4 separate regions of the Homo sapiens genome follow, and all the other regions are linked to region 1. Evidence: promoter capture Hi-C in 16 types of primary human blood cells and fetal thymus (Javierre and others, 2016). All regions are on one chromosome and are shown on one strand. The core of a region is centred on a gene start or on the middle of the fragment in contact, and the rest is flanking DNA. Distances in the headings are between cores, read along the strand shown.

What was found. The method cuts DNA at HindIII sites, captures the fragments that hold promoters and counts their contacts. A CHiCAGO score of 5 or more calls a contact.
Region 2: a fragment that was not itself captured here is called in contact with the fragment with the promoter of ACOT12 in region 1 in 8 of 17 cell types (total CD8 T cells, naive CD4 T cells, total CD4 T cells and 5 more); the score reaches 9.1 in total CD8 T cells.
Region 3: a fragment that was not itself captured here is called in contact with the fragment with the promoter of ACOT12 in region 1 in 5 of 17 cell types (non-activated CD4 T cells, M2 macrophages, naive B cells and 2 more); the score reaches 6.7 in non-activated CD4 T cells.
Region 4: a contact is called between a fragment that was not itself captured here and the fragment with the promoter of ACOT12 in region 1, in 1 of 17 cell types (erythroblasts). The highest score is 5.6, in erythroblasts.

What each region holds. Positions count from the first base shown.
Region 1 is chr5:81,390,007-81,397,114 of GRCh38, forward strand. ACOT12 (acyl-CoA thioesterase 12) reads right to left here and starts at 4,128. Exons shown (of 15, transcript NM_130767.3): 1 at 3,982-4,128. The coding sequence starts at 4,108. The HindIII fragment of the contact is 6,480 bases long and covers 843-7,108 here.
Region 2 is chr5:82,173,969-82,181,076 of GRCh38, forward strand. It overlaps ATG10 (autophagy related 10), which reads left to right. Exons shown (of 8, transcript NM_031482.5): 5 at 4,522-4,619. Among named protein-coding and RNA genes, the nearest start is that of RPS23, 100 kb to the right of the region's middle. The HindIII fragment of the contact is 516 bases long and covers 3,817-4,332 here.
Region 3 is chr5:82,151,096-82,158,203 of GRCh38, forward strand. The region is part of intron 3 of ATG10 (autophagy related 10); the gene reads left to right. Among named protein-coding and RNA genes, the nearest start is that of RPS23, 120 kb to the right of the region's middle. The HindIII fragment of the contact is 3,225 bases long and covers 2,370-5,594 here.
Region 4 is chr5:81,931,355-81,938,462 of GRCh38, forward strand. No RefSeq gene overlaps it. Among named protein-coding and RNA genes, the nearest start is that of ATG10, 37 kb to the right of the region's middle. The HindIII fragment of the contact is 782 bases long and covers 3,764-4,545 here.

The DNA of each region.
Region 1 (7,108 bases), core at 2,878-5,377:
TACAGTGGTGCAATCATGGCTCACTGCAGCCTCGACCTCCCAGGCTCAAGTCATCCTCACACCTCAGCCTCCTGAGTAGCTGGGACTACAGGTACATGCTACCATGCCTGGCTAATTTTAACATTTTCTTTTTTTGGTAGAGACAGGATCTCTCTATGTTGCCCAGGCTGGTCTCAAGTTCCTGGGCTCAAACCATCCTCCTACCTGAGCCTCCCAAAGTGCTAGGATTATAGGCATGAGCCATTGTACCTGGCCACACTTTATTTTTAAAATTCATTTTTTTCTGTTCTTAGATTGGATAATTTATATTGATGTATTTTTGCATTTACTAACTCTTTTCTCAGCCATGTCCATTCTGCTGTTAAGCCTAGCCATTGAGTTTGTTATTTTAGACACTGTATTTTTCAGTTCTGGAATTACCATTTGGCTTTTAAAAAATAGTTTCTATTACTCTGCAGAAATGTACTGTCTTTTCAATCTTTTTCTTCTTTTTCTTTTTCTTTTGAGATGGAGTCTCATTCTCAAATGAGACTCCAGCACTGGCTGGAGTGCAGTGGTACAATCTCGGCTCACTGCAATCTCCACCTCCCAGATTCAAGTGATTCTCCTGCCTCAGCCTCCTGTGTAGCTGGGATTAAAAGCACCTGCCACAACACCCGGCTAATTTTTGTATTTTTAGTAGACAGGGTTTCATCATGTTGACCAGGCTGGTCTTGAACTCCTGACCTCAAGTGATCCACCTGCCTCAGCCTCCCAAAGTGCTGGGATTACAGCAATCTTTATTATCATATTTTTAATTATATTATTGAGCACAGTTATACTAGCTGCTTTAAAATCCTTGAAGCTTAATTCCAGCATCAGGGTTGTCTAGGGATGAATCTCCATTGATCATCTTTTCTCTTAAGAATAAATCATGTTTCCCTCTGTATTTCAAGTAATTTTGGATAATATCCTAGCCATTGTGAGTGATCCATTGTAGAAACTGTGTTTCTCTGAAAAGTGTTGGTTTTGTTTTTGGTTTTGTTTTTTAAAGCAAGCAGTTAACCTGACCAAACCAAAACTATAATCTGTCTACCTAGAGATGGGCACAACTATTTTCAGTTCTTTTGGCCTCAACCAGGAGGTTTGGAGTCTGTCCTATGTATACATGATTCAAGATTTGCCAGATATCTGGGAAAAGATTATAGATAGATTTTAGGGCTCTGTCTCTCTGGCTCTTTCCTTTCTGGAACTTTCCCTTTTGTATTTCATTCAGTAGCTGTGCTTTTCCCAAACCCTGTCTTTGGGCTCTTCAAACCAGCAAGCCTGTGGGTTTTCCATCAGAACTATAGCTGGGAGCAGACTGGCATTTTCTTTCAGGCTTCAAGTCATTTATAAAACAAACACAGAAAAAGCCAACACCACTTTGTTCTTTCATGTGTTAACTTTCAAGTGTTATAAGCCTACTTTTGTTCACTTTTCACCTGCCTTAAGTCTCTTTTATTTAGTGTTTTGCCCAGAGTTTATAATTATTATCTGTGGGAGATTTTTTAGTAGGAAGCACTTGAACATCTTAGAAAAATCCTTAAAGCCCTTGGTGAAGAAAAGAAAGGGAAAAATGAACAAAACATATGACATGATCAATCAGATTAGCATCTTCAAAGATTACTTTAGAAGCAGTGTGGAGAGGAGACCAGAACGAATGGAGATGAGTTTGGAAATCACTGCTGAAGTCTGCATGAAACATGATGATAGCTTGGAGTAGATGGTCGCAATGGGGGTGCAGCAAAGTGCTTGGATTTCAGAGACTCCTTTAGGGGGTAACACTGATAGGACTTGCTCCATGCATAGAGTATGTGAAGTGAGAAGTAAGGTGGAGAGAGAAATATCAAGGATGACTCCTAGACTTTTGACTTGCTCAACTAGATGAGTTGGGTGCCACTCCAGAGATAGTAAACCCTGGAAAAGATTCACAAATAAAAAACCGTGTGTGTGAGATGTTCCAAAATAATACATGGACGTGTGAGATAGAGGATTACTCAGATAGCTTCAAGACTTTAGACTTAAGGGACTGGAAAAATAATGGGGCCACTGACAGAAGTAAGGATAGTGAGAATATTTCATCTTTCTTTAAATATTGAGAAGACATTTTGGAATCCAGCAGTGCCTAGGGGTCATAGAAATGCCTTGGGGGCCATGACTGGGATTGCAGTAATGTGGCTAAAGAGATAATGCTGGCCTATAAAAAACTCTGAGAAAATCCCAGAGAAATCAGTTTTATATTACTACACAGATTCAGTTACACCTTGGCTAAATAATGTCCCCTGCTTATGTGGTGCCTCAGGTCACCATAAAGTGTTTAACACAGGCGTTATTCATGTTGCCCAAACCAACTTTATCATACAGGTTTTCTTAATATTAGTAACATTATCAGTTATTAATATTATACTACTAATAGTAATGTAACTATTAAGGTATAGAGTAATTGATTGTCAATTGGATCTTTCCATGGTTTCCAAAGATGTCAGGTCATAGAAATGATGACAATTGCAGGTGGGCCATTGTTTCTCCATCACAAGACAGAGGCACTAAGCAAGGTAACTAAAAGTCACTTCAGTGGTCTCATAATGTATTCAGTTGCCTTGGAAACAGGCATCATTATTATTAGCAACCTCAGTGGTTTATGTATTATTCTTTTTTCCTATGTGTGGATTAATTTTGTATTCATGTTTCCATTGTTAATATAACCAATCTCAAATCCTGTTAAAAAAAAAAAAGGCTTAAACGAATCATTGATTTCTCACAATTGTGGAGGCAGGGAAGTTCCAAATCGAGGTGCTTGCCCATTGTAGGTCCTAGTGAGGGCTCTCTTCCTGGCCTGTGGATGGCTGTCTTCCTGCTGTGGCCTCACATGGCAGAGAGAAGCTCTCCAGTGTCTCTTCTTATAAGGACATTAATTGTATGGGACCAGGATTCCACTCTTATGACCTCATTAGCCTTAATTCTTCACTCCAAATAGAGTCACACCAGGGGTTAGGACTTCAGTGTATAAATTTCGGTGGGTGGTGTGGGGGATATAATTCAGTCCTTAATAAATGTTTTTGCCATTTTTACTGTCATTCTGTCACAAGAACACAGTGGAGTTTTCCAGAGACTACATAAGGGTGTGGTAGCAGCAGGGTGAATGCAGAAGCAGGTATGAGTAGTCAGCAATCCTCCACTAGCCAGACCTTAGAGAGACTCGCCAGGATGTAACCTTTATCACCACTCCTCTCGCTACACTTTTGTTCTTGTGGAAAATAGTTATTTCTTAATTAAAAATGTTATGCTAACAATGTAGTCCATTTCTTTTTTAAAAATAATTAAAAATTTTAAATTTCCATTACGGTAAATGTGATATAAATAGCCTACATAAACAAAAGCTGCCTGGGTGCGGTGGCTCATGCCTGTAATCCCAACACTTTGGGAGGCTGGGGCCTCCCAACACTTCAGGATCACTTGAGTCCAGGCGTTTGAGACCAGCCTGGGCAACATAGTGAGACCCCATCTCTACAAAAGCAAAACAAAACAAAACTCCCAAAGTCAGCTGGGCCTGGTGGCGTGCGTCTGTGGTCCTAGTTACTCTGGAGGCTGAGGTGGGAGGATCGCTTTAGCTCAGGAGGTCGAGGCTGCAGCGACCTCTGATGGCGCCACCGCTCTCCAGCCCGGGAGAGAGCTCAACAACAACAACAACAAACAAACAAACAAAAAACCCCGCAGAAGCTCTCTGGGCTCCTCACTTGTTTAATGGAATGAAGGAGTCCCGAGAGCCACACATTTGGGAACCACCGGTCTCGGCCATGCCCAGCGCGGGCGCACTGTTGCAACACCCCTATCCCTGGCTGCGCAGGGTTCAGCTCTCCGCAAGTACCTTCCTCGCCTTCCTACCCCCCCCAGCCCCCAGCCGCCGCCGCTCCCGCAGCCCCGGTCCCGCGCCTCCCCGCAGCCCCGGCGCCCGCCTACCCGCCAGGCAGGCGGTGGTGTCGATCCACTTGAGCAGCTGCCCCGCGCTCAGCTCGCCGCGCGCAGTGGCGTGCGCCGGCTGGATGGCTTGGCTCATGACCACCTCGCCGGGCGCCGGCCGCTCCATGGCCAGGGCGAGAGCGCTACGCCTGCGGCCCCCGACACCCCACCATGCCCGCTCCGCCCGCCCCGCCCTCCCCGCCCAGCTCCAGAGGGCACTGGCGCCGCCCGCCCGGGCCGCGAACCCCTGGCCGCCAGGTGGTGGGAGCTGCGAGTGAGGGGGCCCGCACTGTCATCCCAGGACTATCGCGAGTGGGGGAAAACCAGCGCTCTCGGGTCTCAGGAGAAGTCTGGGAAGTGCGCGGGGAGGGGGCTCCCGGGTAGACAGGTCTGGAAGGCGGCTCCCCGAGAGCCGGAGCGCGAGGAACAGCTTTTGAGATAAAAAAGCTGTTACACTTTCTAGAGCTGCTATCAGTGACTGTACAAAGCAGTCCTCATTAGGGAAACAGTGTCTCCAGAAAACCTCCAGCATCTAATGGATTGGTGGATGTCTGACTGTCAGGGGAGGCTGCTCCAGGGAGCACATTTACGATGGAGAACTGGAAACCCGGAGAAGTGGAGCAAGCAGCTGAGGTGATAGGAGCCGATAAGCGACCCGATCACCTGGCTGGAACCCAGGGCTCCTGACTGTCCGGAATAGCACGAAGAAGCCTAGCCGACTCTCACGAATTGGTGGTGCCTTTTCATCCTTATATTTTTGGCTTGCCAAGCCTCAGCATGGCGACATCAGAATGGAGATTCTGGTATTTTTCTTTCCTTTTTAAAAGATTTTTTTTAAAATGAAAGTGAAGAAATAAGGAAATGTTGACTTGATAGCTTTTAGGAGCCTCTGTGTATAGGTTTCAGGACAATCCAATCATAAATAGGAATTGCATGTTTTCACTGAGGCAAGCATGAAGTCTGACTTATATAAAAGGCATTAAAATAACTTTTAAAAGCAAACAAAAACTTGTGCATCCAAGATGGTCCCATTATGTAGCTATACACTTATTTCAATGATAACGTTATTACATCGCTTTTGGCACTCCTCCTTGGAAAATGCCTTTTTAATGACTTCTGTATTGAGAAATCATAATTTAGGAATTGATAGATTATCATATATTCACTCCATCTACCAATAACTCTGTGAGAGTCATTTATTGACCTTGGACTTGGCCATGTGGCTTGCTTAAGAATGGAATGTGGAGAGATAGCAGTGTACCACCAGTCTTGCCTTTAGAAGCACCGTGTTTCTGTTCTCAGGAACATCTGACCTCTGCCATGAGGTCAAGTAGCTGCCTATTAGCATCTGGGTACCAGACTGAATTCACGTATTGCAGAGGCATCTCAGCCAGCCGGAGGACTCACAGCCTGAAGCAGAGCAACCCAGCAGACATGAAGACTCTTGAGTGAGACATAACTACTTATTGTTGTGTGCCACTGTGATTTTGGGGGTTGTCTGTTATGCAGCAATAGCTGACAGTTACATGAGTGAACTGTATTAATATTTGGGAAGTTTATTAAATTACTGGAAATAAAGTTTGCATTTAGGCTGGGTTGTATTATTTTGGGTAAAAAGTGGTGACTAAAGTGGTGATATTGAATTATGTGTATGGTTGTATACTTGGTTTCTTATAAACTAAAGAAACTTAGGCCAGGCGCAGTGGCTCATGCCTATAATCCCAGCACTTTGGGAGGCTGAGGTTAGGTAAATTGCTTGAGCTCAGGAGTTCAAGACCAGCCTGAGCAACATGGTGAAACCCTCTCTCTACCAAAAATACAAGAATTAGTTGGGCGTGGTGGTGTGTCCCTGTGGTCCCAGCTACTCAGGAGGCTGAGGCAGGAGGATCACTTGAGCCAAAAAGGCAGAGGTTGCAGTGAGCTTGAGTCTCAAAAAAAAAAAAAAAAAAAAAGAAAAAGAAGAAGAAATTTCAAAAATGTTTACGCATAAGTGTAAGAGGATGGGTTTCCAAAATGATTTTCTTGAAGGGGACAGCATGTGTATATTTGTGTGTTTGTCTAGAGATGTTGCTTTAAAAGCAGACATGGTACACAAATTCACTGCTGTGTTTTCTTATCTTTATTATCTCCTGTTTAGATGTCTTCAGATTATGGTTTCATATCTTTTGTTGGTTTCATACTAATTTTCATTTTACTATTCTTGTGTTTTTCTGAATGGTCCCTTTCTTCCTTTTACAATGAAAATGTCATCTGCATGCATGAACATTTGTTACCTCCATTTCTCTCTGGTGTCAAAGATTTTTACTATTATGCTTGAATAAAAGGTCGAGTTTCATTTGTGTTTAGAGACATTTTTGAAGATAAGCAGAATGTGAAGCCAGCTTGATTTTAAAAGTTTGTACACAGGAGCAGGAAAGCTGATCCAAAAAAGTGTGGGAAGTTCCACAATCACTAGAATAACGAGAAAATCTTTAAAATGCTGGAGTGGGAAGGGGAACTGGACAGTCTAAACTCTTATTCTAGAGATGAGGAAATGAAGTGATTTCCTTGGGTCACATTGTAAGGTAGTGGCTGGGTTTTGTGAAAACTAAGAACAAGGAACCTGGAATATAAGTAGAGAGGTAGAAAAAAAAATGCTTTCTCCAGAAACAGAGCCTCTGACAAGAATTTGAGAGCAGACAGTTTATTTGGGAGGAAATTGCAGAAAGCACTGGTAGGGGCATCAAAGTGTAGTCCCCAGGTAAGCAGCCTCAGCCTCACCTAGGATCCTCTTAGAAATGCAGAATCTCAGGCCGGGAGTGTTGGCTCATGCTTATAATCCCAGCACTTTGGGATGCTGAGGCAGGAGGATCACTTCATCCTAGGAGTTTGAGACCAGCCTGAGTAACATAGAGAGACCTTGTCTCTATAAAAAAAAAAAAAAAATTTAAAAATTAGCCAGGAAAGGTAGCATATGCCTGTGGTCCCAGCTACTTTGGGAGGCTGAGGTGGGAGGATTGCTTGAGCCCAGGAGGTCGAGGCTGCAGTGAGCCATGATTGGGCCACTGCACTTCAGTCTGAGTGACACAGTGAGACCCTGTCTCGAAAAGAAAAGAAAAGAAAAAATTATAAATGCAGAATTTCAGGC
Region 2 (7,108 bases), core at 2,825-5,324, 780 kb after region 1:
TTCTACTTTGTTTATATGATGCAGTTCTTTATACATATATAAATATCCCAGTTTGTTTCAGTGGGATTTCTCAAGTATCCATTTTGCTTTTGAAATAATTAGTCACGATCATATTTGAATGCATTTTAGATATTAATAATGTATGCCACGATTTTGAAGATATTGCTGATTAAGTTAGATCTTTTGTTTTTGTATGAAAGATCTCAAAAACTAACTTTTGTGTGTCTTTGATGATGAAGGTGTGAACTGTGACTAGGCAAACCAGTGACGAAGGCTTAGGGAACAGAAACCACATCATACCTCATTAAGTCATTGTTGTCATAGAGACAAAGCTATATTTACCCAGACCTTTTACAGTGTAAGTGGTCAGCAGAAACTGGAGAGATTTGCAGAGACACAGAGGAAAAGCAAAATTATATACTTTTGCCAACCATACTCTGATTACTCAACATATTTTGGGAACTGCTGGTTTTGAAACTTCTTCCAGTCCTTGTGGCTAGAAGTTGGAAGATGGTTACTTATTAAAGGTGAATTTGTTTGGCGACAACAAAATCATTTGGAAGCAAATATATGGAATAAAATAAGTATAATTTTTTTTCCTTTGATTTAAACCTATTTGGGACTAGTAAGTAATTAGTTACTTGTCTGGCTCTGAAGGCAGTTCAAAAGTTCAAAGGCAGTTCCATTGACAGAATTACAGCATTGTTGGAATAAATATTGGTTGAATTTGCTGAATAATCAGGTAACCTCCCTAGGTGACTGTTTTGAGGAACAGTGGTCTTTTGAATATTTAAGACCTGATATGCTTGTTTTAAAAACATGTAGTCCCACCAGGCCTAGCATGCCACCAGCAGGGGGTGCCAAACACAGAACTTCAATAGGTGCTAAAGAGACTGCAGTGGCCCTTGAGATAGCCGTTATGGGCCTAGAAGAAGCAGATATTTTAACAATGGTATTATAATTGCTTGTTGACCTTCCTCAGTTTTTTTAAGGGGGTTAGATTTTGGAAGTTGGAGACCATGGTTTGGAGAGGGTATTCATGGAGGTCACGACTGTCTAAGCCATCTCAACCAGTTGCATCATTGTGGATGTATAACAGACTTGCACTGTTATATTACCAATTTTTCCATTGGTTTCCTCATTTGAAGAGTCTACTTTTCAAACAAAGCTCTGGTTACAACAATCAAAAGCAAGCAAGTTGGTTTAGAAAGTTGGGGTGAGAAGAAAATAGTGCTTATTCTGAAGAAAAAGAAATAAAGCTTTGCCAGGCCTCATTGGGATTGCAGCTAAAGGACTCCACTGAGGTAAATACTTTCCTGGCCTCTTGTCTCTGCCCTTCCCTATATAGCCACATTTTTGTAAAGATGGAGTCTCACTTTGTTGCCCAGGCTGGTCTCAAACTCCTGGCTTCAAATAATCCTCCCACCTGGGTCTCCCAAAGTGCTGAGATTACAGGCGTGAGCCACTGTGCCCAGCTGTTGTTGTTGTTTAAGGTGATGAAAATGTTCTAAAATTGATTGAGGTGATGATTGCACAACTCTACGAATATAACTGAATTGTACACTTCACATGGGTGAATTGTATGTACGTGAATTATATCTTGATAAAGTTATGTGTGTTTTTTTTTAGTCATTGGCTTTAAGTGACGAATGTTAGTGATATGCATGTAGTGCTAGTGATCCCCTACCCAGCCCTGGTGGTCTTTCCACTGGTTGGCACCTCTCCCTGGAACGCTGTGCCTCCCAGTGTTTGCACACAAGTTACTTTCTCACTAAAGTCTAAAATTGCAAACCCACCTCTGGCTGGCACTTCTTAGCCTGCTTTACTTTTCGTTTTCACCATAGTATGTATCACCTCCTAAGATAATATACAGTTTACTTGTTTATTGTGTTTATTGTTTATTTTCACACACACACACGCACACACACACACACACACACCCCAAGGCATAATGTAACCTCCATGAAAACAAGGATGATTGTTTTGCTCACTGATGTATCACAAAGGCTTGGAACAGATGCCTGGCATATAGTAGGTGCCCAATTATATAAAACATCTACTTCTAAAATTAACTTCTATCCAAACCATTTACTCCATACTTACATTGTTGCCTGAAATACTTTAAGGAATAAAATTAAAATCATTACTGATTACCAGATATGAAACCCAGCATTCTTCTCTAGGTCTGAAAAGCTTTATGGTAATAGAAATAAAGTTAAGGAAGGCATTTTTTCATCATTTATCATTTGCTCAGTAAATATTTGTAAAGCATTTGCAGTGCCTCTGCCCTCAGAGGCAGCGTGGACCAGCAGGAAGAGCATTGGTGAGTCCTGAGATCTGGATTCAGACTTCAGTTCAGTCATGAACCGGCTGCATACTTTTGGCAGATACATATTTCGTAAGACCTTGGCTGCCCTATTTATAAAATTAGTGGTTATACTAGCTCTAACATTTTATTATCCTACTACAGGTATTTGTTTACTTCTAACTTTGACGTGTAAAAATTATTTTAAAAGCATGTCGTTCTGTAATTTGATTAGTTTACTATTTGACACTAAAGTTCTTAAGATCTTATTTGCCTCTTCCCACACCAATACACACACACACGCATGCGCACACAGACACACGCACACACATACACATATGCATGCATGGCATTTGCATATTTCAAAGATGCATAGTGCTTAAGAGCAGAGTTTGGCCCTACTCTGTAAATGTGTTCAGAAAACAATATAACACAGATACTGAAGGCAGCTTGTTTTTAACTTGTAGCTAAACATGACATTCAAATGTTAATTGGATGAATAAATCTTGTTCATTTTACAGACATGGAAATGTCAATGGAATAAAACTATTTATCACAAGATAATGGTCTCCTGCCGCTAGATAAATGCCAAGATGAAGATACTTATTGAAAATGTATCAAAATATTCTATTGCTATTTATTGAAAATAAAGGTTGAGGAAAAGTTCAACTTTTTAGGTCAAACATGAGAAATGCCCTGCTTATAATATTAGTATGGTACTATATCAAAGATGATATGCACGGTATAGCAACATGGGAAAATTCTAAGAAATAACAGTCTAGAAATGAATCTTTTAGGTTTGAGAATTACTGGAATAATTGTGTGAGGGCTGGGAGGAGATTCCTGATATTTATTGAGCTCTTATTGTGTGCCTAACACAGTCCTGGGTGCATTCACTAATGTAAGCCTCAAAAGAACAATACCCAGAAAGGATCATTATTCTCATTTTGCAGGTAAAGTTAAAAGCAAAATAATTTGCACTCACATGGAGAGTAAGTGCCAACACCAGGATTTAAAACTTAGTCCAGATTCCAAATCTAGTGCTTTTTCCCCCAACATCATACATTTCTACTTATACTTGAAAGTCTTAATACAGTGATTTTTGGAGCTCTTGAGTAGATTATTTTCCTTATGCTTTGTTGCCCTTGATGACCAAATACTTCTTTGGTCTAAATATTCAGTATATTGCTATGTGAAATATCTTTAAGTGATATCATCCATTAGCCCAAAAGAGCACGCCCATAAGTCTTGAGGGCCTTATAGCTCTGAATGGATCAAGTTATATTGGATTCTAGCATTAAGACACCTTCTTTCCAGTAGTGTATGGTTTGAAATCTTTAGGTGACTTCTTCTTTCTGCTTTCTTTTCAGAACTTAGATACCTATTTTTCCACTTTACTTACCTTGTGTATAATGTAAGTGCCATAGTGGTCTTTGTAAAATACATTGTTTGGGTGGATACAGAGGGATAATTGAAACAACTTAAAGAAAAAGAGCATTATTGTTCAATAAAGCTTTTACTGCCCTCTTCATGCCAACCCCGTTCTCTTGTCCTTCCCCACCCCAAGAGTCCCTTTCTCCACCTGCCATAGACACCAAGTGTTAATATCTCTCTTCCTTGGACCATCAGTGAGCTTCAGTCTTCTTCAGGCAGAGACCACTCTACTGTAATATACTTGTCATAGTTTCCTCAGTAGATGTTAGGCTCCTTGTTAGGAGAAATTGCGTGTTTTTCTTCTCTCTATTCTCCATGGTACCTGATGGAGTGATTTGGACATTATAGATACTCCATGAGAATGTGAAAGATGCATGGGTATGGCTTCTTTGTTTTAAGGACTAGAGTAAGTATGAAGGATTCAGAGTATTCATGGTGCACCTTTATGAATATGGGAGTCTGTTGGTTCCTTTGCCTGTGCTTGCATCTGTCAGTTCTCTCTAAAACACATTTGGATTTTATTTATTTTGTAAAATTCCTAGAGGCAATGAATGAGCAGACAATTTAAATGCTAGATGGATACAAAGCTGAGAAGCTTGAATGTTTAAATTTCCCTCAGGAAGAAAATAGTAATTCATATAGCACTCTCTTGATATATAAATAGCATGTGCACTGAAGATCTTTCTAAAAGTCATGATATTCTTCCAGGAGTTTTAGATTGACACCAAGCACCATTGTGTCACATGAATTACTAACTCAGTCTTTACCATGCACTTTCACAGATGGGAGACCTTTAACTCTGAAGGACATATGGGAAGGAGTTCATGAGTGCTATAAGATGCGACTGCTACAGGGACCATGGGACACTATTACGCAACAGGTTGGAGAGTATTGTCATTTTATTGTATGCATGTTATTGTATTCTTTCCCGCTGCTCATCTTTTCTGCTAGTTCCCTCTCCAACTCTTTTCCCTATTTCACTTGTCTATATCTTTACATATTTCACCTCAAAGACAGTTTCCTTAAAAAAAAACCTTCCCAGACCCAGTCTTGGTTTAGCCACCCTATTATAAGCTCTCAGAGTGCCCTATAATTATCCTTTAGAATGCTTATTCCAATTTTAAATTACATATTAGGATGATTTAAAAAAATTGATGTCTGTCTTCTCCACTATACAGATACTCCTTGACTTACAATGGGAATACATCCTGATAAACCCATCGTAAGTTGAAAATATCTGAAGTAGAAAATGCATTTCATACACCTAATCTACTAAACATGAAAGCTTAGCCTAACCTACCTTAAATGTGCTCGGGACACTTACATTAGCCTACAGTTGGACAAAATCATCTAACACAAAGCCTATTTTATAATAAAATATTGAATAGCTTCATGCAATTTATTGAATACTTGACTGAAAGTGAAAAACAGAATGGTTGTATAGGTATCAAAATATGGTTTCTCTTGAAGATGTATCACTTTTGCACCATGATAAAGTCTAAAAATTGTTAAGCTGGACCATCCTAAGTCTGGGACTGTCTGTACTGTGAGCTCTCATATAGGCAGACCATGTCTCTTTTATTCTTCATTGTACATGCAGCACCAAAACAGTACTTATCATGTAGTATGTGCTCAATAAAAATGTATTAAGCAAATGAAAATAGAAACTAAGTTGGCTTATATATTAAGAAATAGATGATTTGGCTTATGTAATCTATACTGTTTTACAGTTTTACTCATAAATACATTTGCAAAAAAGAAGAGCTTTTGATTAATAATATGGTTGCAATAGTGATTTGCAAAAGTAGAGAAAATAGATCTGCAAAAGTAGATATAAAAAGTAGATTTGCAAAAGTAAAGGAAATAGATCTGTCAATCATGTAAGTCATTACTGCCTTGCTAAAATCAGTAGTTATTTTGGAAATTTAAAACTACTCATCACCTTGCAACCAATCATCATCTCCTTAAAAATAATTTTTACTTATATCAAAAATATTATTTTTTCCAAGCTTCTGTTCAGCTAATGAAAGCTTCCTTTAAAAATGAGTTTATCAGTTATTAGAATTTTTATGCCCTCTTATGTGTTTGATCATAATGACAGTTTACCTCCCAATCAACATAAGAATCCTTAGCATCTTGTAAGTGGTTCTTTAACAATGACCATTTTCTAGGTTTTAATTGAGGACAAAACTAGCTTTAGGTATTTGTATCTTTCACACTGCCCCTCAAATTAATCTTTTCTCTTCCCACTGTCACCCTCCTAGATCAAGCCCTCTGACCTCACGTGGAACAATTAGTAAAGCCTCTTACCTGTGGTTTTCTGCTCCTTTCCTCTCTGCCCCTTACCTGTAGTCATATCTTTTTAACCACTGCTGTGCTTACTTACCTGTGCTCAAACCTGCAATAGTTCTCCGAGGGCCTATGGGATGTGGTCTAAATGCTTTGCCTGGGCATCAGAGGTTGCCACTCCCTGGTTCCAACCTGCTCTTCTAGGTTTATCTTCTACTCCTCTGCTCTATACAGCTCTTGCCAAATATGGTTATTCATCTCTCTATACTCCTCTTGTGCAGTTTGTTCTTGTGATCTTTTCTAGATCTAATGCCTTCCCTCATTTTTCTGTATGCATTACCTGTTACTACCTGTCCTCTCATACATTCCCTTCTCTGAAACCACTTCAACTCACAAAAATTGCCCCTCTGAAATCCAAATCTGTAGACCAGGCATTGGTGGTGCTGTGAAGAAGGATAATGTGAAATATGAGAAAACCAACCCTAAAGATTTGGCAAGAACATTTTATTTTATACAAACTATTTTGGATTAACCTTTAAGTATGTCAAGATGAGTGCTAAGAGTTCCAGCTTCTAGTGTCTTGTCAGTGGCCACAAACTGTACAAAAATTTGTATTGTAGAGTCCTTATCCACAAGACCCAGAAAATGTTTGGTTGTAAGAGTCAAGAAAGATGGCAAAAGATAGAGGAAAAATATATTCAAAAATATATGTGTATTTAACTTTACACCCATTTATCAACTCTTTCTCAATTCCATTATACTCTTGAATCCAGTTCTTACCATTTTCCTTTTCTGCCTCTAGCAGATAATTAATCTCCTTAATGCAGGCCTGTATATAGCACAATTTCTAGTGGTCTGTGATATTTTATATTTTAATTCCACGTGTCTTTGTTCTGACCCATGACATAAGAACAAGATTTTGATACAATGTTGACATAGATTTCTTTTTATTGATAGAACTCTTACATTGTTAAACTCACCACTGAACCAATCTGTATATAGATTATTTTTAATAGAATTGACGAATGTCTTTCATTTTATAGTTATTTCACTGTCACACAGCCTATTAGTGTACCATCT
Region 3 (7,108 bases), core at 2,732-5,231, 760 kb after region 1:
CCAGAGGGCTTGCAAAACAATCCATTGAGATGTGAGAAATAACATTACAACTATAATTTATATTTACTTTGATTTTGTGAAAGTTAGGCTCTACTAATATTTAACTTTTTGAAAATTTTAATATAATTTTTATTTTAAGAGAGATGAGGTCCTGCTATATTGCCTAGGCTGGTCTTGAACTCCTGGCTTTAAGCAATCTTCCCTCCTCAGACTCCCAAAGTGCTGGTATTACAGACATGAGTCACTGTGCCCAGCTACTACTAATATTTAAATGTGGATTGATGCTGGCATTGCCACTCTATGCATTTATCAGATAACCAGATGCCATAGAGGTTAATTATGCAAGGCATCTGGGACCTAGACGATAGGAAGGAGCTATCAGTGATGTTTTCACTCCTTTCATTGCATGTTATGCATTGCAGTTTACCTGTGCCCTGGATATCTGGGATGATATTATTCAATTTTAGTTAACATAGCTCTTACTTTTCAGACTAAGGGCTTTAAAAGTTTCCTGCAAAGAATCCCTGGAACAAAAAAAAAAAAAAAATGGTAAAAGGTAAAAACAACAGTCTAATCAGATCTTTCAAAAATTGGCTCTCCAAATTTAAAATTAAGATTATTTGAAATATGGATTTATATTTGCTATTATTAATGATGACCCTTAACCTGTGTGTATGTTGTACCTAATGACAGTATGAAGCAATCATTGACTAACGACTCATTGAAAGGCATCCAGAACTTGAATAAAACCTCTTACAGCTAGAGAAGGGGATTGAAATATGAGATCATGATTTACTAAGTACACCCAGTGATATACTTCCTCTTTATGGATCTGTAGATCTTTCTCATCTGTTGCAGCCATTAAAATCACCTATCAAAACAATGTAAAAAGACCTGAACCCAGATGTTTGAAATGCCATATTACAGTCAAGATTTAAAACACACAAAGAAGAACAAAAAATTACATATTCAATCAAATTGCTCTCATCAAAATACTACTGGCAAGAAAATGTCTGCACCATTACTAAATAAAATAAGTTTAGTTTTCTGTAGCATTTTATTTTCTGAATAGATTTACATATTTGGAACCCAGGGCTCTTTGACTTGGTGCAGATTAGGACAGGGTTCTTTATGAAGAGAAAGGAAATTACCTCTGGCTCTTTAGAGTCTACTTTGAATTAAGGCTGCCGCCCCAGGACTACTGAGCATATGGGATCTAGACATTTGATTTTTGGGTGTCTGATCATCCACGACTGTGAGCAGGACTGGCTGGCTGCTCAGCAGCACTGACTCTGAAGCGTGGAGTCCTGGGAAAACCAGGTAACAGTGTGCTCATTTGCCTGCTATTTACATCTGTCACATTTTGAGGTGCTAACTTTTCAATGGGCACCTTAAAATCAACATTTCTGCAACTTTATTCAATCACAACCACTGGCGCAGAAATCTAAGAGCCAAATAGGCAAGAAGCTCAATGAAGGGTGAGGGTAGAGGGCCAGCCAAGGCCTTTTGGTGCCTGAGCAAAGAGCTGGGTAGGAGGGCTACTTTCATTAGTACCCAGATCATCACCCAACTAAAAGAATGACCTTGAAATATTTTTCCTTCACCTTTGTCTTATCCTTAAAATTTTTATATTTTAGTGTATTTTATAATATACAAAATATATCATATAGAAATACATATTCATAATTGATCAAGAGGTAAATATACACATATTAGGGTTGAGTGCTTAACTTTTTTGACTCCTAGTGTCATGATAAAAAAAGTTTAGAGATCTCTGATTTATAGGATGAAAATGGCAACAGACAATTTATACTCATTCCACTTATTTATTTCACTTAACAAATATTGATTGAATGTCTACTATTTGCCAGGTACAGTTCAGGATGCTTGGAATACGTAAGTGAATAAGACAGGCAAAAGCCCTGCCTTCACTCACATTCAAAGGGATATGTGTGCTGTAATAGAAGCCTTTCCAAGTCTGCCAACTGGATAAGGCCTCAAGATGTATTCTTATATTCTTATAGCACTTGCAACATTATACTCAAATAATTGTTTATGCAATGTTTTTTTCTCCCACGCTCTCTGTAGTTATAAGTTCCTTGAGAGCAAACACCATATCTGTTTGCCAACAAATCTCCAGTGCTGGCACCATGCCTAGCTCATAGTAGATGCTCAGTGAACGTTAGTTAGTTGAATGTATATGTGTGCTGTCCATGCATATACAAGTGGGCACACATGTATAAGTGAGTTATTTGTAAAGCTGAGAAAAAAACTTGTGGGGCATTCTCAAGCAGAAACTATTGCTGGGGGCAACAGAAAGTGTAGGCAGACACTTTTTAGTGGGCTGCAGCAAGAGTTTATCGGGAAGAAGCTTGGATAATCAGAGGTGACAGGGGTGACAGATTCTAAGTGATTAGGCAATCTGGTAAACTTGGACAAAAACAGTTCCTGAAAATCTATCTGGGTGGGTGTTGTGATCATTGAACTAAAATAAGCCTTGGTTAAGGGTGATTAGGATACTAAAATGATCAGTGCTACATAAAACTGGTTTACACTTGAATGAAGCTGAAAAAGAAAAATTAAAATCTCACAAACAAAATTCATAGATTTGGAGGTAAAATTTTATGTACTTGGGGACTCTGTGCATTTTCTCTAATAGTATTTGTTGTAATTATAATTTTATAGCTCTTTGTGTGATTATTTTTTAATGTATTTCCTTATATTAGGACATAATATCTATTATTGTTATCTCTTCTATTCCCAGGCCCCAGGACAGTGTCTAGAGCAGACGATGGCAACTGTGGCCTGCTGCCTATTTTTTTTTTTTTTTTCTCTTTAGAGACAGGGTGTCACTCTGTTACCCAGGCTGGAGTGCAGTGTGCAACCTTGAACTCCTGGGCTCAAGCAATCCTCCTGCCTCAGCCTCCCAAAGCGCTGGGATTGCAGACATGAGCCACAGCACCTAGCCTGCTGTGTATTTCTGTACAGCTCACAAGCTAAGAATGGTTTTTATATTTTTATATGGTTAAAAAAAGAATTTAAAAAGAATAATATTCTATGACATTAAAATAATATGAAATTTAAATTTTAGTGTTCATTAATGATGCACTATTGGAACAAACCCACACTCATTAATTTACATATTATCTAGGCTGTTTTCATGCTGCAGTGGCAAAGTTGAGTGGTTTTGACAGAGACTTATGATGCCCAAAGCCTGAAATATTTACTATCTGGCTCTTTAAGAAAATGTTTGGACACCTTTGATCTAGAATATTTAGTGTATCCTATAACATTTTTTGAATGAATGTATGATTAATTAGTATACCTATGTGCCAGATATACACATTTTATACATTATCTCATTTAATCACAAGGGAAAGATGCCTTTATTTAACAAGTGAAGAAACTGAGGCATAGAGGGGTCAAATGACCTGTCCATTCCATGAGTGGCAGAGCCAGGGATTGAACCCACATCTAGCTCCAAATTCTGTGCTTTTTTATTTTTGCCTATATTATGCTTCTCTGAAGTCTATGTGTTTTTATCCGAGATTTTGAGTGTCTCCTTGAATCCCAATAGAAAGCTGAGAGCTTAATGTTGCTCTCATTACTGCTGAAATATTATAGTATTATTTAAAAGCAACAACCACATCTTTGTCCCAGCACAAGCATAGTGCCTGGCACGTCATAGATACTTGTGGAAATCTTAAAGGGATTCTCCTGGTAAAAACCAAGCAAAGAAACAAATAAATCCTTATTCATATCCATATAATCCAGAGACAGTTTTGAGCAAGGGAAGGAACTCATGGCTTACTGAAACAGTTCCTTGCTGATTCCTAGACATGCTGTTTCTTGTGCATGTGTGAGAGGGCCTGTGCTTTAGGATTCACAGTCCTCTAACATTCCTACAATGCTTGCCTCTTGGTCTGTTTATGAAGGCTTTATCATTTTCACTCTTTGGCAGAGAAATTTACTCAGTTCTGAATTTGAGTGTAGAAGTTTATTCATGTGCTGAAGGAACTTGCAGTTTATTCATCAAGACATTTAAAAATCTCACTTGTTTAAATTAGGGTAGTGCTATCTCTTACTTTAGAAAATGACTTTAGCCAAACTTCAGCCCATTGGATTTAATTATCATTGTCCTTTTAAGGCTCAGAATTTCTTAGACCCTTGGAAATGTAATGTAACATCCTAAGACAGGAAAAAAATGGAAAGGGGAAAGAGTTCACCAAATGGAGATACAAGTCCTTTAATAAAATTCTGTTTAGTGCTTGTAAAAATATAATAAAATGAAATTAAAGAAGGCCTTAAAATTAGGATTTTCAGGGGTAGGCAAACTAAGGTCTATGGACTACAGCTTGTTTTTGTAAATAAAATGTCACTGGAGTACAGCCACGTACCTTTGTTTACATGTTGCCAGTGGCTGCTTTCAGGCTGCAGCTGCAGAGACCTATGGCCCACACAGAAGCCTAAAATATTTACTACTTGGCCCTTTAGAAAAATGTTTGGAGATCTGTGGAACTAGAGATATAAGAAAAATTAGAGAAACTGGGCTTATTCAATATGGGGAACAAATAAATTTATTCATATTATATAAAAATAATGACTCTTTGTTCTTAATCTTCTGCAAGGATAAATCTAGTGGAAACTGATTTACTTTCTAGCAAGGTAACAAGGAAGAATTTTCTGGCTCTGGAGTTAAAACATAGACTGCCTTATAAGGCAAGTTTCACAGATTGGTGGTTACATGTGTGGTGCAAAATTTATTCCTTTTTGGCACTCCAAATTCCATTATTAAAGATTCCTTTTGATTAGGGTTATCAGCCACAAATCTACTGTTGAATATAATAATTGATAAAGGAGTAACATATTAAGCCACTAATGGCCATTAATAGTTTAGCAAGAATTAACTAACCAATTAGAAGGAAAAGGACAAAATGAAGGAAATTTTTATATAGGAGAAGATGAAGGAATGGGGCAATAAACTGGGAGTGGGGGGTGATAAGCTGAGGTCTTAGGTTAATGGAAGTGCATTTAGGCTCCCTCCGAGAGGAGACCAAATGAAGTAACGGTGGTTCTCAAAACATAGATGAGCAGCTAGTGAAGGCAAACCGGTTTATGGCATAATTCTGGGTCTTGGTGAATGAGTTTCCTGACTTTATAATTCCATAGACTACAAAAGTAAAGAATCACAAAGTAGACCCTCCATGTGTATGTGAGGCAAGACCTGCATAGCATCACCAGGAACACTGCTTATAAGGTGAAGTCTTAAAACCCATCCCAGAACTCCTGGATTAGAATTTTGGGGGTGGAGGCCAGGAATACGTCTGTTTAACATTTCTCACCACCAAGAATCTGATGGTCTTTGCAGGCTAGAAAGAACCCTGGACTTGGAGCCTGAAGGCTTAGTTTTGTGCCCTGGCTCAGTTTCTTACTTGCTGGAGACCTTGGGCCTTCCTCCTAGAGCAGAGGAACAAATTACATGATGTACATCAATAGGCTTAGAAAAACTGTAAACTGTTAGAGTTGATGCTGGCCTTTCTTATGTCACATGTAAAGGGTAACACTGAAGAGAAACACACTTGACCGACTTCTGAAGCTTGATAATTTTTCAAGAGGTCAAAATTTTCCCCTCTTCCTCTAGTTTGTCATGTTTTACATAAAGAATTTCTGATTTTCAAATCCATTATTCTGCTAATTCTTTTACTTTTAGATGTATAGAAATAAGTGATAAGTGCGATTAAGCATTATTACTATTTCCTCCTGCCAAAGAACCTGTGTTTTGTAGCATGGACTCTAAGAGATAGCCTCTTCCACAGTTCCACCTTTTACTTGGCGTGTTTGCTGGCTTCCCAGCTCCAGGCACTAGCTGTCTTGCTGTTTCCTATGCAGTCTTAAAAGAAACAGGGTCTAGGAAGCACAGTGGAGCCAGCTGTAAACATCCAGAAAACTGCCAGATGTGCTGTGGCGGGTTTCTGCATCCCCTCCCTCCTGCCTCGCCCTTGAGCATGCCTGCCTGGAGAAGAGGTTTTAATCCTGCACAGGAAACAGATTCTTCCTCTCAGTGGGAACCCACGTTGGCCATGCTGTTGCTAATTCACTTTGGTTGATGTAGCAGGGAGAGTAAAGAATGGCACCTTTTTACCCCCTTTTAAAAAAAAATCAGTAGTAGTAGTGATAATATTACTGGGAAGGGGAGAGCCTCACTAAGATATTATCCTTGGGATCATCTTATAACCACCCTTTTTTGTTTCAGTGTTGCCTTGGATGCTGTTAGACATATGTTGAACCCGCTGATATGTACCATATACAACATTTACAGTTGCTAAAAGAATTACGTTGCTTGCAAAGGTTCTTGTGACAGTCACTTACTCAGAAGCCACAGGGATTGTGGAAAAAGTCATTCTGGGAATTAAGATAGTGAAAAGACCACTCCACTGTATGATAATGAGCCTTGAAACAAACAAAACAAGAGCTGATTACTTAAGGTCCCACAGATTATTTTTATAATTCACTTTAAACTTTTTAATATTAAAATTCTTTATTTCTTGAGGAATTGATTTTTCAGTGGTTTATCAGAAGGCTTCATCAGTCGTTATCACTTCTGAAAATATTAAATGGCTGTTGGCTCAGGAAAATCAGCAAATGAAGAGTATATTACATCGCATCTTTCCATTGTGATGAGATGGTTTCTGTGTCCAGTCTTCAGTACAGCTAAGGACTGTGGACTGTCTTTGAACCAGTGATGTTAGGTTTGAACTAAAGACCTGACTGGTAGAAAACAAACAAATCAACTATCTTTTCCTCAAGGGATGTTATGAATAAAGCTCATTACTTACGTTTGCTCAGTAATAGTAATACAGATTATTAGTGATAGAAGAAAAGTTTTTCTTCCTTCTCTGTAGGCTAAATAGAGATATGGATCTCATTTCCAAGGCCCAATACACTATTTGGGTTTGCTTTCAATAAAATAGCTGTGAAGTGTCTTCAGCATGATCCCTATTTAATGGGATTTAGTTGTAAAGCTTAATTCGTATCAGATTTTTTAAATGAGAGATCACTGTCAACTTATTGTTAATTGAATTCAATAAAATCAAGGTTTCTATAATTA
Region 4 (7,108 bases), core at 2,905-5,404, 540 kb after region 1:
CTGTTGGGATTATAGGCATGAGCCATTTGTGCCCAGCCTGAAGGTTCATTTTTTTTTTTCTTTTCTTCTCTTTATGAGATGGAGTCTCGCTCTGTTGCCGAGGCTGGAGTGCAGTGGTATGATCTTGGATCACTGCAACCTCCACCTCCTGGGTTCAAGCGATTCTCCTGCTTCAGCCTCCTGAGTAGCTGGGACTACAGATGTGCACCACCAGGCCCAGATAATTTTTGTATTTTTATTAGAGACGGGGTTTCGTCATGTTGGCCAGACTGGTCTTGAACTCCTGACCTCAGGTGATCCACCTGCCTTGGCCTCCCAAAGTGCTGGGATTACAGGCTTGAGCCACTGCATCCGGCCTCATTTCTCTAATGAGGATTTGCTTTTGCTTCTGTCAGATGCTCTGGGGCATCACTGAGCCAAAAGCACCTGGTGTGAACTGTCCTAGACCATGCAAATTAATGTGAATATCAAACAGTGGGTGGGCAGGTTTGTACTTATGACTGTACCAGGTAAATTTTTTCTCCCTCACCCCGTGCAAGATCTGTGAGTGTGAGTTTTCCTTCAATGGTTCTTTTTTCCAGCAGAGATTTTTTTCTCTCTCATCCTCTTACTATAACCCTTTTAGGATTGTGGCTAATGTTTGGTAAGGCCTCAACTTTGACTCTCCATTCATGAAATTCAAGGTTTCTTATCTCCTGTGTTGTCATTAATCACGAGGCTCCAACATCCTTTTATTGGCAGATTCCTGAGAGTAGCCTGTGGTGTTTCCTTACTATGTGGTTTAAACTCTCTTTTCAACCATGGCTACTATGGATTTCCCTTTGTTGTACAAAGAGGCTTAGGGTGGACACCAGCAGTGGCACTTGGCAAAGGTGTTCAGCAGGTACACAGGTCCCGCTGACTCTCAGCACCTGGTGAAGACATGAGTTTGGTCTAGGCTATGGCTCGGCCACAGGCAGGGATGCTACCTCCCTCTACAGCAGTGAGTGAGAGGATAGCCTATCATGAGGTGGGAGTGGGGGTGTTGCCTTAACTTCCAAATGCTAACTGGGTGTAGAATCTATCTGGCAAGTTATTTCATCTCAGGCCTTTAAAATTATTATTGTATTGACTTCTACATGATATTTGTATTATCTTCTGCCAGTCTACATTTTGTTCCTTTGTAGGTAACCTGTTTTCTCACTATGATAACTCTGAATAGTTACACTTTATGTTTGAGGTCTACAATTTCACTGTGATGTGTATATTTCTTTTTATTTCTGTTTCTTGGTATCTGTGATCCCTGAATCTTAAAGTTCTTATTCTGTTTTTCTTACAACTCATATTCATCAATTCTGGAAAATCCACATTATCTCTTCAAGTATTTCCTCTTACCCATTTTTAATATTTTTTCATGTTGGAATTCTTAAGTTGGACTTTCTCATTCTATTCTGTCCTTTCATTTGTATCTGTTAATAGAGTGACTAACCATTCAGATTTGCCCAGGAAAAAGGGGTTTCTTGAGACGTGGGACCTTGAATACTAAAACCAGGCAAACCAAGGTCGTTGGTACCCTACTCTTCTCATATTTTCCATCTCCATAGTTGCTGTATTTTCTGTAATTGTTTCAGATCTACCCTCCAGTTCACTAATTGTCTCTTTAGCCGTGATTATTAGACATTGTAGTAAGTGTATTTTTTTTGCTTCTTCTTTTTTTAATACTTTAAGTTCTAGGGTACATGTGCACAATGTGCAGGCTTGTTACATGTGTATTCATGTGCCATGTTGATGTGCTGCACCCATTAACTCGTCATTTACGTTAGGTATATCTCCTAATGCTATCCCTCCCCCCTACGCCCACCCCAAGACAGGCCCCTGTGTATGACTTTCCCCTTCCTGTGTCCAAGTGTTCTTATTGTTCAATTCCCACCTATGAGAACATGCGGTGTTTGGCTTTTTGTCCTTGTGACAGTTGCTGAGAATGATGGTTTCCAGCTTCATCCATGTCCCTACAAAGGACATGAACTCATCCTTTTTTATGGCTGCATAGTATTCCATGGTGTATATATGCCACATTTTCTTAATCTAGTCTATCGTTGATGGACATTTGGGTTGGTTCCAAGTCTTTGCTATTGTGAATAGTGCCGCAATGAACATATGTGTCTTTATAGCAGCATGATTTATAATCCTTTGGGTATATATCCAGTAATGGGATGGCTGGGTCAAATGGTATTTCTGGTTCTAGATCCTTGAGGAATCGCCACATTGTCTTCCACAATGGTTGAACTAGTTTACAGTCCCACCAACACTGTAAAAGTGTTCCTATTTCTCCACAACCTCTCCAGCACCTGTTGTTTCCTGACTTTTAAATGATTGCCATTCTAACGGCTCTGAAATTGAGGCAATAATTAATAGTCTACCAACCAAAAAAAGTACAGGACCAGATGGATTCACAGCCGAATTCTACCAGAGGTACAAGGAGGAACTGGTACCATTCCTTCTGAAACTATTCCAATCAATAGAAAAAGACAGAATCCTCCCTACCTCATTTTATGAGGCCAGCATCATCCTGATACCAAAGCCTGGCAGAGAAACAACAAAAAAAGAGAATTTTAGACCAATATCCCTGATGAACATCGATGCAAAAATCCTCAGTAAAATACTGGCAAACCGAATCCAGCAGCACATCAAAAGCTTATTCACCATGATCAAGTGGGCTTCATCCCTGGGATGCAAGGCTGGTTCAACATACGCAAATCAATAAATGTAATCCAGCATATAAACAGAACCAAAGACAAAAACCACATGATTATCTCAATAGATGCAGAAAAGGCCTTTGACAAAATTCAACAGCCCTTCATGCTAAAAACTCTCAATAAATTAGGTATTGATGGGACATATCTCAAAATAATAAGAGCTATTTATGACAAACCCACAGCCAATATCATACTGAATGGGCAAAACCTGGACACATTCCCTTTGAAAACTGGCACAAGACAGGGATGCCCTCTCTCACCACTCCTATTTAATATAGTGTTGGAAGTTCTGGCCAGGGCAATCAGGCAGGAGAAAGAAATAAAGCGTATTCAATTAGGAAAAGAGGAAATCAAATTGTCTCTGTTTGCAGATGACATGATTGTATATTTAGAAAACCCCATCGTCTCAGCCCAAAATCTCCTTAAGCTGATAAACAACTTCAGCAAACTTTCAGGACACAAAATCAATGTGTAAAAATCACAAGCATTCTTTTTTTGCTTCTTAAAATTATATGTTTTATCAACCTTTTCTTTTTTTAATAATTTCTCAATTTTAACAATAGAATCTGTATTTTTAAACATCCTTACTATATTATCACATTTTATGTCATAGTCTCTATTAGGTTTTTCTATTATATAATGAAATTCTTAAGGCTGAATCTTACGATTTATTTTTCCGCAGACTCTAATTCATAGTGCATTATTTTCACATATGTTTTGTAAATTTAGATTTTGAGGCTCATTTTCAGAGAAGTTTGATCTACAGAAATCCTGGATAGTCTAGTTCAGGGGTATCTCTTTAGAGAGGTTTTGAATTTTCTTCTTTGAGGTGTCCAAGGGATATCAGTAGCCCAGGATTACTTTTTATGCTGATTTCTCAGTTTGAAGGGCTCCAGGAGTAGAGAGTAGTATAAATTTGAAGTCCATAGTCTGGGAATCAAAGGCCTATGGTTATAGATTTCTGAGGGAGACTTTTTCTATTCAGAACTCAGCCCAAAGTAAACTAGCTTTCTTATCTGGTGAATGGAAGCTTCGTTGACTCTTATTGGCAATATAGCTTTAGGCAGCTCTCTACATAGGCATAAAAACTCAAGCCCTTAGATTGCAAGCCACAGTGCCTTGACTGGTTTCATGTTCTATTTTAGTTTAAATGTCTGCATATTCCCATATTTTTTTGGCAGATAACAATATGATGATAACAACAACAACAATAATAATAAGAGTAGCTAACACTTGTACAGAATATACAGAATGGGCCAGATATTATTCTAAACATTTTAAACTTAATTCTCATATAACCCTCTGTAAGGCATGTAATAATATTTTCCCAACTTTACAGATGGGGAAACTGCCACAGATAAGTTAATTAACTTGCCCAAAGTCCCACAGCTATAAAGTGGCAGACTAGGTAACCAAATCCAGGCATGTGATTCGAAAGTCTATGTTTTAATCATTAAAAAACACTGCCTCTCAATTAGAGCGTTAATTTTTTTCAGCAATTCTTATATTTTCATAGTAATTTTCAGGTTATTTAAACTGCCATATTGCCAGAAAAGGAAATCCTAAATCTTGATCTTACCATTTTATCATACTCTAATTCTAACCTTTCACTTTCCCATCCTATTTTCAAGGGGATGCAGTAAAAATATATGTTTATTACAATGATAAATGACTATTTATATCTGAGTAATACTAAGGGATTCCCAAATAGAAAAATTTATTAAAGAAAATCCTGAATTTTCTAAGATGAGGATTGCTATTTAAACTTAAAGGAAGAGTGGAAGGATATACTAATAAGTGAAATCACTAAAGCTTTGGTAAAAAAATGAGGAGTTGCTGTAGTCCAGTTGCTATCAATGGATAGCCCTCAAAAGGCAGCCTTAGCATACATGAAAACTTGTTAGAGATATACATTATTGGCCTCACCTCAGATCTACTTACTAATTCAGAAACACGGGGGCTGGGGAAGGAGGAAGAGGGGTAGGGGATGTACCCAGAAATTTGTGTTTAACAATTTCTTGAGGTAATTCTGATGCACTGTAATGTTTGAGAACCACTGCTATCATCTATTTAGGATTTAATTTATTGCAAACACCAGTGTCCTTTATAGAGTGGGATGTTGTTTTACATGTGACCACAGTAAGTCTCCATGCATCATAAAGCGTTAACCCTCAAGGTGAAGTTTATTGCTTCTTGGGTGAAAACAGGGATATTAGATTCCCTTTCAACCTCTCCTTCCTGTTATGTTGTAGCATGTAATAGTTCCCTTTAAACATCTGGATGTTAAAAAAGGCATCCTTGCCAGTTAACTTAAAGGGAAAGTGAAAAGTTTGGAAATTAACCCTTCTTTTTTATGAAAAAGAGATAAGAACACCATTACTCTTAATGTCTTTTGCATTTCTATTTAGGAAGCAGTAGTTGAATCTCTGGATTTTTTATAGCAGATCAAAGATACAAGCTTTACGACTTTACTACCATAAGTACTGACTAAAAATAGATTATATACAGGCTGCCTGTAAAGTTTAACAGTATTTTAACTAATTGTCAAGATTGTTTCTCCAGCAGTTATTTCTAATGTCTATGTGTAAAATGTTTTTGATGTTGTTCTCTCGTTTAGCAAACATTTATTTATCACCCTGTGCCAGGCACTGTGCTAGATGCCAAGAATACAACTATGGCCAGGACTGACATGGTTCCTGTTACCACAGAGTTGACAGGTTAGTAGAGAAATAGACAAGAGCACAGGTAATTACAATACAGCATGACAAGTGTTATGATAGGTCAAATAAAGGGCACTATTGGAACTGTTCTCAATAAAAATGCAACATAACTGCTGTCTGAGTGATTTATTGCTCTTGATTATAAAATATGCTTGCAAGATAGAAGCTAACTCCTACTCATCCTTCAGAAGGCAGCTCAAATTGTCATGTACCCATATCCTCCAGTGAATTTTCCTTTCCACCCCACTACCCTGCCCCTTACACTTGAGATTAGGATCCTTTTCATGTGTGTCCATCAAACTTTATCTATTTGTATTACAGTACTTCTCACATGCATTCCAATGATCTATTCAAATGTCTGTCACTCTGCTATACTCTAAACTCTTGGAGGGCAAGGACTCCATCTTATTTGTTTTTGCAATTCTAACATGGTGCTAGCACCAAAACCCATTTATACTCTTTTATGGCATGCTTTGGGTTTGTCTGTTCACTATGGATCACTATTGTATTCTTTATCAGTTTAAATAATGTACTTTTGGCCAGGCACAGTGGCTCACGCCTGTAATCCCAGCACTTTGGGAGGTGGAGGTGGGTGAATCACCCGAAGTCAGGAGTTCAAGACCAGCCTGACCAACATGGAGAAAACCTGTCTCTACTAAAAATACAAAAAATTAGCCGGGCGTGGTGGTGCATGCCTGTAATCCTAGTTACTTGAGAGGCTGAGGCAGGAGAATCGCTTGAACCCAGGAGGCAGAGGTTGCAGTGAGCAGAGATCACGCCATTGCACTCCAGCCTGGGCAACAAGAGCAAAACTCCATCTCAAAAAAAAAAAAAAAAAAAAATATATATATATATATATATATATATATGGATATATAAAATGTTCTTTTTTTAAATTTTTTATTTTTTTTGAGACTGAGTCTCACTCTATTGCCAAGGCTAGAGTGCAGGAGTGCAGTGGCGCGATCTCGGCTCACTGCAACCTCCGCCTCCTGGGTTCAAGTGAACCTCCCGCATCAGCCTTCCAAGGAGCTGGGATTACAAGTGTGCGCCACCACACCCGGCTAATTTTTGTGGTTTTAGTACAGATGGGTTTTCACCATGTTGGCCAGGCTATTCTCGAACTCCTGACCTCAAGTGATTTGCCCGTCTTGGCCCCGCAAAGTGCTGGGATTACAGGTGTGAGCCACTATGCCTGTCCAAAAATGTGCTTTTTTATTGATCTTTTTGCTGCTAGGAACATGAGCTCATCATAACCCCCTTCCCTTAATATGAATACTTATATAGAACATGTGTCTTAATATTACCTTGAAATCAGAATCAGTAGCACTTGTATCTACAGAGAACAAAAAACAAATTTTAAGGGTTGGGGAGGGAATTATGAGAATGTTACCTGGTACAACATCACAACCTCACTTAGTGATTTTTTGACCTGGTTGATGGTCTCTCCATTTTTCTCCCATTCCACCCAAGCCTGTCCTTTGAAAGCAAGAAAACTAACCTAAGCTGCATATGTGGTGAGGTCTAAAATAAGGAAAGTATAAGATGCTATTGGAGTACCTCGCATGACACCTAATCCAGACTGGCTTCTTAGAGGAAGCAACATCTAATGTAAAATATGAGGAGTAAGGGAGAGTTAAGAACACCATTACT